Linked DNA regions of Homo sapiens: region 2 is linked to region 1. The links are contacts of gene promoters, found by promoter capture Hi-C in blood cells and fetal thymus (Javierre and others, 2016). All regions are on one chromosome and are shown on one strand. The core of a region is centred on a gene start or on the middle of the fragment in contact, and the rest is flanking DNA. Distances in the headings are between cores, read along the strand shown. Region 1 holds the start of ZMYM4 (zinc finger MYM-type containing 4). Region 2 holds the start of ZMYM1 (zinc finger MYM-type containing 1).

Region 1 (5,201 bases), core at 961-3,460:
CTTATCAATGGTAAAAATTTATTGTTCAAAACACTACGATGAAATGCATTAAAATAACACGACTGATGAACAGAAAGAGGGATAGAGGGGTAAATATATGATAAAACAAGTGGAATGCAATTTTTTTTTTGGAGGGGGTTTTGAGACAGTGCCTCCCTCTGTCACCTAGGCTAGAGTGCAGTAGCACGATCTCGGCTCACTGCTACCACCGCCTCCCTGCTACCACCGCCTCCCAGGTTCAAGCGATTCCCCTGCCTCAGCCTCCCGAATAGCTGGGATTACAGGCACCCGCCACCACGCCGGGTTAATTTTTTGTATTTTTAGTAGAGACGGGGTTTCACCATGTTGGCCAGGCTGGTCTCGAACTCCTGGCCTCAAGTGATCCTGCCGCCTCGGCCTCCCAAAGTGCTGGGATTACAGGCGTGAGCCGCTGTGCATGTCCGGAATGCAATGTTAACAGTAGGATCTAGGCGGTTGGGTGTATGACTGCTCCCCGTAAGTTTTATAATATTGACGGATAGTTCAAAATATTTTCCTAATAAATTGTTGGAAAAAATAATACTTGACACTTCTTTGGTCATTTACAATTTAAGCTTTTAAGGAGAGAAACACAGATTAAAGAAACTCCTCTGTGGCATCCCACACAGGCACTATAGTTGGGACAAACCTGGATTCAAATCCTACCTCAACCTTGCAACTAGCTGTGTGATCTAAGTAAATTACTTAAGCCCTCAACACCTAAATTTCCTCATCTGCAAATAGGTTCTAGGAGGAGTTACTATGAAGTTAAATTCTTCACATAAAGGTCTTAGCTCAGTGCCAGGCACACAGTAAGCACTCAAAACATCAGCTGTAGCATCATTACGAGATTACTAATTTTACGCTAAGCTGAAAGGGCATTCTTCATAAAGTAGTAATTTTTTGCCCTTTTGCTAATTGATCGTTTCTGAAACCATTCCCAAAAGGAAGACTCCTAAAAGGAAACTTACTTCTTATCATGCTAAGCGGGGAGGAAGTAAAAGAAAAGTGAGGGATATTGCTCAATCGATAGTACAGTATTGTTCGCCATCTGAAAAAAACCACTCAGAATTAAATAAGGAAAGTTTCCAGACAAACTTTAAAAGGTATTCAAACAACTCCTATGTAGAATTGGCTTCACCTCTGCAGGTTGATTGGGTACATCCCTGTTATGAGAAAACTTGTCGTATTCTTCCAAGTCCCTAATTGCGAGTAAGAGGCTAGGCTAGAACATGACATTCATAGTAGCCAAAATCTTTCTCCTAAATCAGGACATGCCAACGATCCCACTTCTTCACAGGTAAGACCACCACCCCGACTTTGGTCTAGATAACGGCTATGGGGGGAGGGGAAAGGAGGCAGGAAAATGAATTCGCGATGGTGTTACTGAAGAACCCTCCGGTTATTTCTCCTGAGACCCCTCCACGACTTATTCCCGCCACCACCACCCCCACCTGACCTCTCCCCAGTTAACTTCCAGACTCTGATGTACTAAAGATGCACTAAAGATGCACTTAAGAATCTGACACCTCCCCTCCCTGGGCCTAGATATCCCACCCCAGTGCTGGGGAACGTCGGGGGGAGGAAGGCAAACAACGGCCCCCTCCCCTCCCCCCCACCCAGCACCAAATCTTTGTCCCACCTGCCGAGGGACCGCTCGCCAGCGCGCTCCGGACCCAAGGCTGCCTCAGACCTGCCCGCAACCTTGTCCTAACTGGGCCTCGGCGACCCCTCCACGAACCTGAGTATGGCCCATTCCCGGCCCCGGGCCGCGCCCCGCCCCCCGCCGCCCGAGTTCTGCCTCACCTCACCTACCCTCTTTCGGGGGCCGGACTCCACCTCTCTCTCCGCCATGTTGGGCCCCGCTCGGAACCGCTGCGGCTCCCCGCGCGGTGGCGGCGGTACCTCTCGGCCCCCCGGCCCCCGCCCACACTGCAGGCACGGCCGCCTCGCGGCAGCTTCCCCGGACCCGGCCGGGCCTTGCGCCGAGAGTGGGGAGGGGGCGGATGCCGCGCGCCGGGCCGCAGCTTCTGAGATCCCACGGGTCCGCGCGTGGGCGGGAGGGCCTGCCCGGGGACGGGGTGGGGGCCGGGACTCGGGGGGTTAATGGCCTCCAAGGGGCCCCGTGAGTAGGATTATTTTCTCTCAGAGAAATTCCTCCGCCTGCGGTTTCTTAAAGGGATCACCAAATCAGCCCCTTGCGCGCGCCCCTGATGCGCAGGCGCACCCTAAGTCCCTCCTTCCTTTCCCACCAAGCCCCCGGTCCTGAGCGTGCGCGGTAAGTGGCCATGGGTAGGCCAAATCCTGCAAGTCTCTTTGCTGCCAGCAGCTGCTCCCACCACTCAACTATGGCCGCTCCCTTAAAGGGACCATGACGCAGGGATGAAGGAGAAATGAAAGAAATTACTGGAAAGACAATCTGGAGAATTGGGTGCAATGTCAGTGAAGGGTTCCACATCACCATCTTACACCTGACTACAGTGGTACCATTGAAGAGGGAAAGTCATGGTAAGCTGAAGTTCTCAGTGGACCTCTGAACATGAAGAATCCCAAACCAATGAGGGAACAAGACAGTCATCTCAAGGAAAACCAACTTTCCTCCCTTTCGACTGCCTGTTCTGAAGCACAAGGCATAGAATATCAAGAGCCAACTCCTATAACCTCACCTTAAAATCAAAGCTTTTGGTGATTTTGAAGATTGAACCAACAACTGGAAATAATTTCTTCAATAGTAATTTATCCTTAGAACATCAAAATGGAGAAGGATCTTAGGGAACCATTTACTCCAGTGCTCCCAATGATAAAATTGCAGCCTGATCATGGGAAGGAATTTGTCCCAATGTAACTAATGGCTGGTGTGGAGTTGGAATCAAGATTACAGTCTCAGTCCTCCAGGCTGTCTTCAGGCGAGAGATAAATTTGGTTTAATTTGATATCCCTAGAAGATTAAAAATTGAAGTTTCATGGTATTTGGAGAATATCATAATTCTCTTGTGAAGATGTAATGATTTGCAGATGATGGGTGTCCTCATTCACCTCTATTGAAGGAGCTTGACAATCTGCCTTAAAGGATAAGCATCTTATTTCTAAGCAGGAAACCAGGAAGTAGATTTGGGTCTATCTTGTTCCAAAACTGGGTCCTAAGCTGAAAATCGCTGAAAAGAATGAGGGCTTCATTCATTCCTCTTCTGTTCATTCTAGTTCCCACAAGCTTTGGGTGCAGAAAAAATTAAGTTTATAATGATAGTTCAGGGACAGTGGGGAGACATATAGTAAGAAATACAAAGAAGATGCCTCCTGAAGGTCATTTCCCATGACAAGACATATTCAAGTGGGAATGATAACTCCTGAAGTCACAGGATAATGAGATGTAACTTCTGTTTTCTGTTTTATTTAGCACTTGGTAGCTATTCTGAAACAGATGTTTTCTAATCTGTAATATTTTGCTGAAAACTTTTGGTGAAATTGCTGGAAGTTTCCATACTGGCCTTGCTTATGCCTTTAGCACTGTCTTTAATTTCACTCCTCGGTAGGAGAGAAGAAAGAAGGACAAAGAAATATGTTCATTTCAGCCAGAATTTTAAAAACATGTTCCCTTTAGTTCCATGTCCAGGACAAGAAAGAAAAGAGGAGCCAAGAAAAGATAATTCCAGGGAATGTGGCTACATAAAACTTGTAGTGGTTTCCACCTGTTTTATTGGCAGTGGAATACTCCCTTCTAATAAAATCTGGTGGTTTAAAATGTGGAGCTGCTAAGTTGGGAGTGTAAGTGGGGAACCCACTAGTCTATTCACCCAGCTTCACCCTTGCACTCTCTCTCCTTTCATGCCCCCTCCCATCATTACAGAAATGTTGAGTTTCTCAGATCACAGTTTAAACTTATTAGTTTAGTCTAACTCCACATTTTCAAGATGAAGCCTCTGAGGCTTAGAGAAGATATGATTTGCTTGAGATCACACACAGGATTAGTAACAGTATCAAGACTGAAACAGACATCTTGATCCTCAGGGCTCTGTCCTACACAGACTGTTTCTGGAGGTATTAGCAATGTGTTAGGTCTCGAATAATAGGTGGGATTTGTGCATTTCAGATAATATACAAGCATAACATGAATGTTCAGGGCAGTCATCCATATGGAGGAATAAGACAAGAGAAAACCATTTAGTGAGCACTGAAAAGTTAATCATAATTTTATAGAAGGATTCACAGAGCTTAAGTGACTAGTCCAAGATCATTCAGCACAGAGGCCAAGTCAGAATTCAAAGCCTTGTTCTTTCTGACTTATTTGAAATATCGTAAAGTAGACATTGTAAATTGGTGGCCTTGTGACCAAATCTGTCCCACAGAAATGCATTTGATTTGTATTGTGTATAGCTATATGATCTTGGTCAAGGTAATTGTCCTGTGCCTCACTTTCCTTATCTGTAAAATGGGACACCAAGAGGATTAAATTAGTTAACATCTCTAAATCTCCTAGAACACTGTTGGTTCCTAATACCATATGAGTATCATTATTATTATTATTATTATTTTTTGAGACAGAGTCTCACTCTGTCATCGAGCTAGAGTGCAGTGGCGCGATCTGGGCTCACTGCAAGCTCCGCCTCCCGGGTTCACACCATTCTTCTGCCTCAGCCTCCCGAGTAGCTGGAACTACAGGCACCCGCCACCATGCCCGGCTAACTTTTTGTATTTTTAGTACAGACTGGGTTTCACTGTGTTAGCCAGGAGGGTCTTGATCCCCTGACCTTGTGATCCGCCTGCCTCGGCCTCCCAAAGTGCTGGGATTACAGGCGTGAGCCACCGCGCCCGGCCATTATCTTTTTTTTAAAAAAAAAAAGTTAAATCATATATCAACATTTTAAATGGGATATTTCACCTACAAGTTCAGTGCTCTGACTTGTTTCAAAAAAAAAAAAAAAAAAAAACTAGACTATAATGGGGCTAGTATCTTGCAAATATCAAACAGATTTCTTTTAACTTTCTTAAGTCATCTTCTGTCATAGACTCTTGCTTGAAATGTAGCCTTGAGACTTATTTTCCCAATCAGGAGAGAACAGAATGGAGAGAAAAAGAATTTGCTAAATTTTCTTAGTTCCATTTAATCTATGAAGCTCAGCACATAATAATTTCATAGAGTTTTTACATACTCCACAGGAAATGCCTTCCACCCAAATATCCTT
Region 2 (5,201 bases), core at 1,036-3,535, 190 kb after region 1:
CAGAGGCTACAGTGAGCCGAGATTGTGCCACTGCATTCCAGCCTGGGTGACACAGTGCGACTCCGTCTCAAACAAACAAACAAAAAATCAATTTTATTTCTTTATACTAGAACAGAAAAATATAAAAATAACCATTTTCTGCAGCATCATAAATATCAAATATAGGAATAAATCTAATGAAAGCTATTAAAGAACTCTACAGTGAAAACAAAACATTGCTGAGAGAAATTAAGGAAGATCTAAATAAATGCTCATTGATGGAAAGAGTCAATATTAATTTTTCTCCTAATTAAGCTGTAGATGAAAATCCCAGCAGGGGTTTTTGTGGAATTTGTAAGGTAATTCTAATGTATATACAATGTGCATACAGAGCCTAGCATAACCAAGACAATATCAAAAAAAAAAAATGTTGGAAGGGCTTATAAAGCTACAGTAAATTAAGATAGTGTGGTATGGACACAAGCAAAAACAAAACAGAGTCTGGAAGCAGATATACTCCTATCCCTTATTTCTTCGCATTATACCACTTCTTTATACATTACACTTTGCTAAGATTTATTTTATTCGGCCGGGCACGGTGGCTCCTGTCTGCAATCCCAGCACTTTGAGAGGGTGGATCAGCTGAGGTCGGAGTTCTAGACCAGCCTGGCCAACATGGTGAAACCCTGTCTCTACTAAACAAAAATTAGCCAGGTGTGGTGTAATCCCAGCTACTTGGGAGGCTGAGGCAGGAGAATCACTTGAACTGGAGGTGGAGGTTGCAGTGAGCTGAGATCGCGCTACTGCACTCCAGTCTGGGAGACAAGAGTGAAATGCTGTCTCAAAAAAAAAAAATTATTTTATTCAACTGAGTTCTGCAAGGTCTTTTACTAGCCTGATGGGAAGGCTGGAGGCAGAAGGCTATATGTTTTTCAAACCAAACTAAAATGTCCATGGTTAATTCTGCAGGCAATGAAGAGCCATCATTTCCGAAGTGCCTTGGTACCGGGTTACACTGATGAGTAGGATGTCCCAACCAGTAAGTATATACAAGGTACTGAGAAGAAATGAAAAAAGAAGACGGTCAGTCTTCTGGGAGGTGAAATTTGAGCTGGGTTTTAAAGTGTCTACCAACCAATGATGGCGGATATTCCTGGTATAGAGACAGCATGTACAAAACCACAAATAGCCGGGCACAGTGGCTCAAGCCTGTAATCCCAGCACTTTGAGAGGCCCAAGCAGGTGGATTGCTTCGATTCAGGAGTTCGAGACCAGCCTAGGCAACATGAAGATAACCTGTCTCTACAAAAAATACAAAAATTAGCTGGGCGTAGTGGGGAGCACCTGTTGTTCCAGCTACTCTGGAACCTGAGGTGGGAGGATCGCTTAAGCTCGGAAGGCTGAGGCTGCTTGTGAGCCGTGATCGTGTCACTGCACTCAGCCTGGGCCAAAGAGCGAGACCCAGTCTCCAAAAAAAAAAAAAAAAAAAGAAGCACAAATATATGGGAACTAGAAGGAGTGGGACTGTTGTTGCAGATAAAGTACAAGTGCAAGAGTGCTAGTAGAAGGAACTGGAAAGTTTGAAAAGTAGACATGGGTCATGTCAGGAAGGTCCCTGATACCAAATACCTTAAAATTAATCTTGTAAATCAGCAGCGTTCAAACTGTGCTTTTGGGGTTCAGCAAACATTTCATTTTTTTTTTTGAGACGGGGTCTCGCTCTGGAGTGCAGTGGCACGATCTCGACTAAATGCAACCTCTGCCTCCCGGTTCAAGCGATTCTCCTGCCTCAGCCTCCTGAGTAGCTGAGATTACAGGCGCCTGCCACCAAGCCCAGCTAATTTTTGTACTTTTAGTAGAGACGGGGTTTTGCCATGTTGGCCAGGCTGGTCTCGAACTTCTGACCTCAAGAGATCCGCCCGCCTGGGCCTCCCAAAGTGTCGGGATTACAGGCTTGAGGCACCACGCCCGGCCAGGAGTCAAACTTTTGAAAAATCACTGCTCAATGAAGGAGAGATACAGGTGTGATGGGGCTTCTGAAACGGAGGCTGCGGAGCGAGACTAAAGTCTGAAGGCCCAGTTACTACACAGGAGCAGGAGGCGGCGAGAATCGCTGGAAGCGGGGAGCACTAACCCCCCCAGTCTATGAGGGCAAGGTTAAAGGAGGCGGCAAACACAATCCACGTCAGGGCCTGGCCCGGAGTTCCCGACCCCCATCTGGCGGAATCCGCACTCAAAGCTCCGTCTCTAAAACCCCGACCCGGCGCGTCATCCTCCCTCCGACCGACAGCAGAAACCCTGCCCCTTTCGAGTAAGGCGCAGGAGTAAAGACCGAAACCAGAGCCGCATGAGGAGGCTTACTAATTTCTCTCAGGGACGCCCCGCCCAACGCTTCTGAAACAATCTTCGAAGCGAAACGGCCCCGCCGACCCCGCCCCTCTCCCGTCGTGCTCTGCGGTTGAGCATGCGCAGGGCCGCTGGCTCAGGGTGGTCCCAGCTCCCTGAATTGGGAAGAGCGACTTTGGGATAGAAGAAGTGGGAGAGGGGGAGGGGAAGAGTCCTTACGGCCCGCATAGGATCTTACCCTTGAAGTCGTCGCTGGCTGGCAGCCAAAGTAGGACCCTTGACTCAGAGCTCAGGCAGGGCAGTTAGATTTCCTGGATTTGAGAGATGGCTTTACTACTTATTAGCTGTGTGCTAGTAAGCGATTTGACAACTTCTATAAATCTCCATTTCTTCGACCTTGAAATGGGGATAATTGTAGTGGCTGCATCGTAGGTTTGTAAACATTAGGCAGGCTTCTGCAGAAGCTGGACTCAAAAAAAAAAAATATGACAGGCAATGTTAGCAAAGTGCCAGTTGCAGAGTAAATTCCTAGTAAAAGGAAATTATCCTCAGAGGTAGGGAGGGAGTTCAGACTTCTTTCATTAGTACGTTAAAATTAAAATGACCCCAGGCTGGGTGTGGTGGGTCACACCTATAATTCCAGCACTTTGGGAGGCCGAGGCGGGTGGACTGCTTGAGTTCAGGAATTCAAGACCATCCTGACCAACATGGTGAAACCCCGTCTCTATTAAAAATACAGAAATTAGCCGGGCATGGAGGCGGGCGCCTGTAATCCCAGCTACTTGGGAGTCTGAGGCAGGAGAATCGCTTGAAGCCAGGAGGCAGAGGTTGCAGTGAGCTGAGATTGTACCACTGCACTTCAGCCTGAGCGACAGAGAGAGACTGCGTCTCAAAAAAAAAAAAAAAAAAAAAAAAAAAAATTAAAATAACCCCAAACTGCATGTCAAAAATAATGGCATATTTTAAATGTTTTTTGACAATACTTTCAACACCTAAAAAAGTATAGGACGAACTAACTGTGCTATTCCTAAAGGCATAAGAGGATTCTAAAATATATATATAAGGTTGAATGATGAACTTATTATAATCATATTTGACAATTACTTTTAAAGGAGATATTCTCAAAAATCTAAATTTGAGGCCCTTGTGAAGGTGAGGTCCAGACCAAAAGGGCCTCCTAATCCTTGCTGCTATGGTCCTTAAATATCCTTTGGAATTAGCCTCAAATCTAATATAAACCCTTTGGTAATTTGAAATATTATACGAGTAACTGAAGTTAATTTCTCCAACATTTATTATTACCTTCTAATATTCATAATAATCTGTTTAGACTGTTAGGATTAGAAAGGACCTTACTGAAATGATCTCTCCTCTAATGCTCCCTTCCTACCAAAGGAAAAGCTGAAGGCAAGAGGATAAAGGTAATTTGCCCCAAGTTACACAGCAACTCAGTGACTGGGATTAGATTGGAACCCAGAAATGAGTCCTGGTTCAGTGGGCATCCAAAGGCAAGTGATGTCATTGTAAATGCCCCGTGGGTTCACCTTGCCCGCTACCTAAACACAGTCCATTTATCAAGACGGGGAATTGCAATAGAGAAAGAGTAATTCACGCAGAGCCAGCTGTGCGGGAGACTGAAATTTTATTATTATTTAAATCAGTCTCCTCGAGCATTTGGGAATCAGAGTTTTTAAGGACAACTGGTGGGTGGGGGGAAGCCAGTGAGCCAGAAGCGCTGATTGGTTAGGTAGGAGATGAAATAATGGGAAGTTGAAGCTGTCTGTCCTCATGCGCTGAGTTAGTTCCCTGGTGGGGGCCACAAGATCAGATGAGCCTGTTTATCTATCTGGGTGGTACCAGCTGATCCATCAAGTGCAGGGTCTGCAAAATATCTCAAGCACTGGTCTCAGGAGCAGTTTAGGGAGGGTCAGAATCTTGGCCTCCAGCTGCATGACTCCTAAACCATAATTTCTAATCTTGTGGCTAATTTGTTAATCTTATAAAGGCAGTCTAGTCCCCAGGCAAGGAGGAGGTTTGTTTTGGGAAAGGGCTGTTATTGTCTTTGTTTTAAACTATAAACTAAATTCCTCCCAAAGTTAGTTTAGCCTATGCCCAGGAAGGAACAAGGACAGTTTAAAGTTAGAACCAAGATGGAGTCCATTAGGTTAGATCTCCTTCATGGTCTCAGTCATAATCTTGCAATGGTGGTTTCATCGTCATTACTAACTTCCTTGGGAGTTGAGTTGAAAAAATGGTAGGATTCATGATATCATAAAAAATTGTAAGGATGTGTGATAATTTTGAGATGTGATATTCCAACCACCCCCAGTGATAGATCTGAAAATTTGGCCCAATATTTCAAGCAGTAGATGTAGGTCACAAGTTTCATGCGTCTTTCTTGCCCTGAAGTCTCAATAGTTTATACTGGCTGAAAGATTAAGTCCTAAGGAATAGGAGGAGAGCTCTGGGAGATAGGAAGCTTGATTCATTCTTTTTCTTTTCTTTTCTTTTTTTTTTTTTTTGAGACAGAGTTTTGCTCTTGTCACCCTGGCTGGAGTGCAATGGCGTGATCTTGGTGGCTCACTGCAACCTCTGCCTCCTGGGTTCAAGCGATTCTCCTGCTGCAGCCTCTCAAGTAGCTGGGACTACCGGAGTGCCCCATCATGCCCAGCTAATTTTGTATTTTTAGTAGAGATGGGGTTTCGCCATGTTGGCCAGTCCAGTCTTGAACTCCTGACCTCAAGTGATCTGCCCACCTCAGCCTCCCTGGGTGCTGTGATTACAGGCGTGAGTCAACGTGCCTGGCTGATTCATTTGTTTTCCTTTCTTTTTTTTTTGAGATGGAGCTTCGCTCTTGTTGCCAGGCTGGAGTGCAA

Evidence for each region. Contacts are between HindIII fragments. The CHiCAGO score rates a contact against its expected background, and 5 or more counts as called.
Region 2: a fragment that was not itself captured here is called in contact with the fragment with the promoter of ZMYM4 in region 1 in 1 of 17 cell types (naive CD8 T cells); the score reaches 5.1 in naive CD8 T cells.

What each region holds. Positions count from the first base shown.
Region 1 is chr1:35,265,718-35,270,918 of GRCh38, reverse strand. ZMYM4 (zinc finger MYM-type containing 4) reads right to left here and starts at 2,210. Exons shown (of 30, transcript NM_005095.3): 1 at 1,834-2,210. The coding sequence starts at 1,872. RefSeq lists silencers at 1,691-1,820, 1,891-2,250 and enhancers at 2,381-2,440, 2,461-2,520. The HindIII fragment of the contact is 2,104 bases long and covers 596-2,699 here.
Region 2 is chr1:35,076,582-35,081,782 of GRCh38, reverse strand. ZMYM1 (zinc finger MYM-type containing 1) reads right to left here and starts at 2,398. Exons shown (of 10, transcript NM_024772.5): 1 at 2,341-2,398. RefSeq lists an enhancer at 1,973-2,491. The HindIII fragment of the contact is 5,042 bases long and covers 1-4,806 here.